Regions from separate parts of the Homo sapiens genome. Here region 2 is linked to region 1. The links are contacts of gene promoters, found by promoter capture Hi-C in blood cells and fetal thymus (Javierre and others, 2016). All regions are on one chromosome and are shown on one strand. The core of a region is centred on a gene start or on the middle of the fragment in contact, and the rest is flanking DNA. Distances in the headings are between cores, read along the strand shown.

Region 1 (3,275 bases), core at 239-2,738:
CTTAGCTCAGTCCTGAAGTAGGCAGGATGGACCTAATTGGCACAGTATCTGATTAGGAACAGTTAACTGCACGAAGGTATGACACTCCCTATCTGCCTCGAGCTTACAGTGGATGTTTAATATGTTAAACAGGAAATGTTTGCAAAAAGTATTCATATTTTTCAGTCAATATATACTAAGGACATTTATTCATTTTTCTTTTGTTTACTCAACATTCATTTACTGCTTAACATGCCAAGTGCTAAGGATGTATAAGGCCACATGGTCCCTGCCCTTAAGGAATTCATAGTCTGATGGGGGAAAACAAAATTACTTAATCAGCATGTACGCAAGTACTCAAATATTTGCACAGTAGGTGTTCAAACTATATGCAGTAGGTCCACAGCTGATGAATGACACAGATGATCCTCCAATCAGTAGATGCCTGATGTATATGTACAAAGTACTGGTTTGATGATACTCATTCAAAGTACTGTAGTTGCAATGAACCTATTCAGAAACTGCTCAAGGAACATGCACACGATAGGACTAAATGTACATACAGTTGGTACCAAATGCACAGGGGCTATACACAATAAATACAATAAAAGTACACGGATGTTTGGTAAGTGCACTGTAGGCTCACAAATGGGCAAACAGGTGTTTTACACAGTTGACACTGGATAAATACGCCGTTGCTAAACATCCAATAGTTAAAGTATACATACACACAGGCTTATTTTGTAGGAGTATATGCCACAAATGTGTACATGGTAAAAGTGAATACAGAACAGTTGAAAGCGTTCATTAAAATGCTGACTCCCAGTGACTTTTGGGGGGTAAGAATCGAAACCCCATCTCTCTACCTGTAACCTTGGATGAAATAAAGATTTCCTTCCTTTACTTGGGACTCAGAATCCTAAAAATCCATAATCCCCGGGGAGTGAGCAGCTTCCTGCCTTCCTTATTTCAAAGCCCCAGAGGTGTCAGTGTCTAGAGCTGGAGCCTAGTACATCTCCCCCCATCCCGCGGGCCAGCATAAGGGGTCCTTTGCAATCAGGCTCCCAGAGCCGCCTTCCGCGGCCCATACCGTTAAGACCAGGGAGAAGGGACAGAGAACACTGGTGCGGGGCTAGCGACCTGGTTGAGGTCTGCGGGGGAGTGCCGGTTTGACTCCACCACCCACGGACACCAGCTCCTCTTCCGGTCTCCATAACGCGCATGCGCATCACTGGCCTTTAAACGTGCACCGCCGGTCCATCCGGAAAGACGATCCGGCAAACTAATTACAATCTTGTTCCTCCGCCGTTGCAATGAACTATTTTCTCTCAGTCCGGGGTGGTACTTTTGAGTAACCCCTTCCAAATAGAAACCCATACCAGCCTATTTAGCTCGGTCTCCACTATATGAAGGTTTCCTAGGGCTTGGTGTGACGCAACGTATACGAGGCTCGGAAGGACACCCCGCGGAAGGATCCGGTTTGTTGTGGTGTGGGGAGGGGAGACGCTGACAAACCAAGATGGCGGCGGCGGCGCTGAAGGCCGCGGCGTTTGGGAGGTAACTGTGGTGGCGAAGGCTGCGGTAGTGGGGAGGCAACCACACAGTTTGGAAGAAACGGAGCGGGACGAAGAGGCGGTAGCAGTAGAGTCAGCCTGAGACTCTCAGAGCACGACGGCCACACGCCCCCTTAGGCCCTCGGCGGGCGGCGGCTGCCCCGCTTAGGGCCTAGCCTCCGAGCATTGCCTCGGCTTCAAACAGCGGCGGCGCCATGAGTCCTTAAGGGCGGTCCAAGCCTCCCGATCCCTGGCCCAGACCTCGGGCCCACCATGGAGCCGGGGTCCGACGATTTCCTACCGCCACCGGAGTGCCCGGTGTTCGAGCCTAGCTGGGCCGAGTTCCGAGACCCTCTTGGCTACATCGCGAAAATCAGGCCCATCGCAGAGAAATCGGGCATTTGCAAGATCCGCCCACCCGCGGTAAGCCCCGGGGCCGGTTTTCGCCGGCGGCGAGACGGAATGAAGCAGTAGGATAGCCAGCGGCGAAGTCTGGGGCGGAGGGCAGCTCGAGGTGGGGAGAGGGGGTGGCTGGGACCGTTGTGGTTGCGGCGCGGATCGGAAAAAGGGTGTTGGGCCAGGGGTCCTCTCGTGGTGTGAGGCCCACAGGTGACCTGGAGTCAGAGATCCACCCCCACCCCGGCCCTTCAGAATCACTCCGGGTTTAAGACAGGGATTCCTAGTGGGCCGGAGGGAGTTCACAGAGAGGCACCCCGCACATCTCTTAGCCCGGGCCACCTAGGTCGAGGCTGTAAAAATAAGACGTTTCTCCAATCTGTTGTCATCACTTCCTTTAAGGCAGGCAGCATAGTATAGTATTAATAGAAAGATCGCAGTCCTGAAGGGAGACAGACTTGAGTTCAAAACTCCACTTTGAAGCTGAGCAGCTGTGTGACCTTGGGAAAGTAGAAGTAATCTCTCTGAGCCCGTGAAATGGATCCCAGAAATGGTTATTTAGAGGATTGAATTAAACTAGGTAGCGTCTGTATGTAGTACGCACTAGATAAGTGGTAATTATTGTGACTGTGAGGGTGTTTGATGTGGTCATTGGTTTATTCCTATGTAGGTTGACTCATATTTACTCATACCTTGCCAGGCCAATTCATCTATGATAATATCCTGGCCTGCTGGACCAGTCAGGAAATCAGTCTCACAGGGATTGCTCTGTCTCCCTTGAGGTGGGTTCAGGGAATTGTCCTCTTCTTTTCCTCGTTGAAGGCAATGTCAAGGCCTTTTCTGCACATCATCCCGCAGACTTGACTTCCTATGGAGATGTTTGGACCGGTCAGCTTGGTGGTGGGGTGTGAGTCCTTCTCAGAAGATTTCTACTCTCCTCTGGTCCAGGATGTAGGAGATCCCAGAGGATAGGGCACTCTTGGGCCCGCAGAACAGAATGGAGCCATGGAATTCTGTCCCTTTTGGAACATGATTGCCAGGGGTCAGCAACAAAGGCCATAGCTTTCCTCCTAGGCCTGGCTTCAGGCTAGAAGTCTCCCAAGGGCTAGGGCAAGCTGCTGCCTTGCTGATATGGTGGAAAAGTGATGATAATGTTCAGTGATCAGTTGGGATTCCAAGGGCAGAAATTGAGCTTTGCTGGAAAAGGGTGTTTTTGAGTGGGTGTCTCCTGGCTGAAATGGAATAGGAAGCTTCATTCCCACCTGAGGAGGGCACCACAGGCCTCCTTATCCAACTTGGTGCTTTCTGGTGCTCAGCCACAGATCTAGGATGGTTTCAGATAGATCC
Region 2 (3,275 bases), core at 506-3,005, 6.1 Mb after region 1:
GCACCTGCTCAACACTAGGTTGCTGCCACACCTTTGCTCTATGCTCGTGCACACACATACACAGACAAACACACTCCAATTTTCTCTTCCTCCTCAAGCCACAGGGAACCCGAGTTACCTGCTCCCAGGTGGGCAAGAGTTAGAATCACACAGAGGCACTGGCGTCTGAGAGCACAAAAACCTTCAAGAGACTCTGGCAAAGGGGCCAGAGTCACACAGTAACATCCACCACAGCCAAGGGCCAGTCACAGACACGAGCCCCAAATAACTACGGGCCCACATCACAGAAGGAACACACAGTAAGGACCACAATTACACAGTGGGTCCCCTTTCCATGGATGAGCGTCAGTGTCACAGATACAAACTCCCCAAAAGAAGGGGCAATGAGTCACACACACATTCCCTGCATGCCCCTTCCCACCCAATAAGTGGGTTAGGGTCAATCAAAAGACAGTCGTCCCCCAAGCCCCGCCCCATGGATAAGGATCAGAGTCACAGACCGCCCCCCCTCAAAGGGTAAAGACCAGAGTCACATCCCCCCTCCGATCCCCCAGGAATAGAGACCAGAACCACAGAATATTTCCCCATGGACCGATAAACACCAGAGTAACACAGAGCAGCATCCCCTCTCCTATGCACAAACTCAAAGTCGCAGACAACCGCTTCCCCACTGATAAACTTCGATGTAGCCGACACAGTGATCCACAGTAGCCCACTCCCATCCGTCCCTCCCTTCCCCCAACCCGCATGCACCCATCCCATGTCCCAGTCGCGCACGCGCCTTTGCTCACACCAAAAAAAAAAAAAAAAAAAAAAAAAACCAAAAAAAAAAAAACCCTCCCGGGTTGAGACATTGCACCAACCCCTCCGTTCCGCGCATCTCCCCCGACCCGAAGTCCGCCCTCGCGCCTCCTCTACGTCCCCGCCCCGGGCCCCTTACCTCCGCCCCCACGACCAGCGTCGACGCTCACCTTCTCGGCCCGGGCTGTCAAGGAAGGGCTCCCAGACATCACCTCTGCCCGCCGCCACCTCCTCCAACTCTCCCAGCTCAGCCGGAGCCGGAGCGCGCAACAACCAAGTCCGAGACTGGAGGCAGATCGGGGGGAGGGGAGAAGCGCCAAGCGCGCTGCCCTCCCAGGGAAACTCACTGCCGCCTACTCCCAGCCGGCCACAGTCACCAGCTCAAAATGGCGACGACGAGAAGGGAGTCGGCGCTCCGACCACCATCCACCTACTAAGGAAGCGCGCTCTGGCCGGCCCCGGCGATTGGTCACCGCCCGCTAGGGGACAGCCCTGGCCTCCTCTGATTGGCAAGCGCTGGCCACCTCCCCACACCCCTTGCGAACGCTCCCCTAGTGGAGAAAAGGAGTAGCTATTAGCCAATTCGGCAGGGCCCGCTTTTTAGAAGCTTGATTTCCTTTGAAGATGAAAGACTAGCGGAAGCTCTGCCTCTTTCCCCAGTGGGCGAGGGAACTCGGGGCGATTGGCTGGGAACTGTATCCACCCAAATGTCACCGATTTCTTCCTATGCAGGAAATGAGCAGACCCATCAATAAGAAATTTCTCAGCCTGGCCGAAAATGGTTGGCCCCACGAAGCCACGACAACTGGAGGCAAAGAGGGTTGCTCAACGCCCCGCCTCATTGGAAAACCAAATCAGATCTGGGACCTATATAGCGTGGCGGAGGCGGGGCGATGATTGTCGCGCTCGCACCCACTGCAGCTGCGCACAGTCGCATTTCTTTCCCCGCCCCTGAGACCCTGCAGCACCATCTGTCATGGCGGCTGGGCTGTTTGGTTTGAGCGCTCGCCGTCTTTTGGCGGCAGCGGCGACGCGAGGGCTCCCGGCCGCCCGCGTCCGCTGGGAATCTAGCTTCTCCAGGACTGTGGTCGCCCCGTCCGCTGTGGCGGGAAAGCGGCCCCCAGAACCGACCACACCGTGGCAAGAGGACCCAGAACCCGAGGACGAAAACTTGTATGAGAAGGTGAGAGGCGGGGGGGGGGGGGGGGGTAGTGGGGACGGAACCCCGAAGGGGTCAGTCCGGGATCGGCAGATGGGGCGCTGTAGAGGACGTTCTTAGGCAGTAGAGGACTGCGCGGCCGGCGAAAGCCTAGAAGACTTGGGAATTTTGCCTACCTTGTGTTCCTCCTTTGTCTCTCGGTATCTTCGTTCCAGGGCCAGAGGCAGGATTGGTTTTATTTTGCAGACAGAAATCACACCTCAAGTGGACAGCGCTCAAAACACGTTAGAAGCAGTATAGTACAACGATAATACTAAACACCGATATGGCACTTGCTCGTTGCCGTCTGCATTCTTTTTTTTTTTTTTATAGGGACGAGATCTCGCTATGTTGCCCAGGCTGGTCTCGAACTCCTGGCTCAAGCGATCCTCTCGCCTCGGCCTCCCAAGGTGCTGGGATTACAGGCATGAGCCACCGCTCCGGGCCCCGTCTGTGTTCTAAACACTTGACATGCATTAGCTCATCTTATACTCGAAACAAACCCCATTTCGAGGTGGGCTCTATTATTATACTCATCCTACAGATGAGGAAACTGAGGCACAGAGATGTTAAGTGGATTGCCCTAGCTCACATAACTGAATACATGGTGGAGGTGGAACTGGTATTTGAATTTAGGGCTACCAGGTCTGCTGTGCTGTATTAATAGCAGACGCTGTGAAATCAGGCAGCACTGACGGTTACCCACCCGTGTGATCTTGGTAGCATAAACCCTTGGTGCCTCAGTTTCTTTGTCTGTAAGATGGGAACAGTAATAGGACACCTTCTAAAAAATAGGACACCCCACCTGCCTCATGTAATTAAATGAGTAAAAATGGTCAGAACAGCAGCTGGCACTTCGTAAGTATGTACTCAGCACTAGAATGTGTTTATTATTGCCATGTTTCACCTCACTGAGATATTGTGAGGTGTTTCTATGTGAAAAGACTGGCACATAATAAGTACTTCATCAATACTAACCTCTGGTTAAGGGGCTTGGATATATAGGATGCTTGTTCATTCTGTAAATATGTATTGAGGGCCTGCTGTATGCCAGGCTCAGTTCAGGGCCCTGGGGATACAGCAGTGTGGAAATCAGACAAAGCCCATGCTCTCATAGAGCTTACATGATAGTGGGGAAGACAGAAAATAAACAGTAAAATATTAGAAAACAATAATACAAAGTAGTATAATAGATAATATAACATGAGAATGTATGATATACAGAGAATGGGGAAAGTATGCTACTTAGGTAAACATAGACTAGAAAGAGACAGAA

The links. The method cuts DNA at HindIII sites, captures the fragments that hold promoters and counts their contacts. A CHiCAGO score of 5 or more calls a contact.
Region 2: the fragment with the promoter of NDUFB11 here is called in contact with the fragment with the promoter of KDM5C in region 1 in 2 of 17 cell types (naive CD8 T cells and erythroblasts); the score reaches 5.9 in naive CD8 T cells.

What each region holds. Positions count from the first base shown.
Region 1 is chrX:53,223,420-53,226,694 of GRCh38, reverse strand. KDM5C (lysine demethylase 5C) reads left to right here and starts at 1,488. Exons shown (of 26, transcript NM_004187.5): 1 at 1,488-1,955. The coding sequence starts at 1,806. It also overlaps a transcript of IQSEC2 not described here. RefSeq lists enhancers at 1,167-1,216, 1,094-1,388, 1,227-1,606, 1,847-1,946. The HindIII fragment of the contact is 15,929 bases long and covers 1-3,180 here.
Region 2 is chrX:47,143,182-47,146,456 of GRCh38, reverse strand. It overlaps NDUFB11 (NADH:ubiquinone oxidoreductase subunit B11), which reads left to right and starts at 1,755. Exons shown (of 3, transcript NM_001135998.3): 1 at 1,755-1,984. The coding sequence starts at 1,778. It overlaps RBM10 (RNA binding motif protein 10), which reads right to left and starts at 1,236. Exons shown (of 24, transcript NM_005676.5): 1 at 972-1,236. RefSeq lists an enhancer at 943-1,212. The HindIII fragment of the contact is 2,886 bases long and covers 1,411-3,275 here.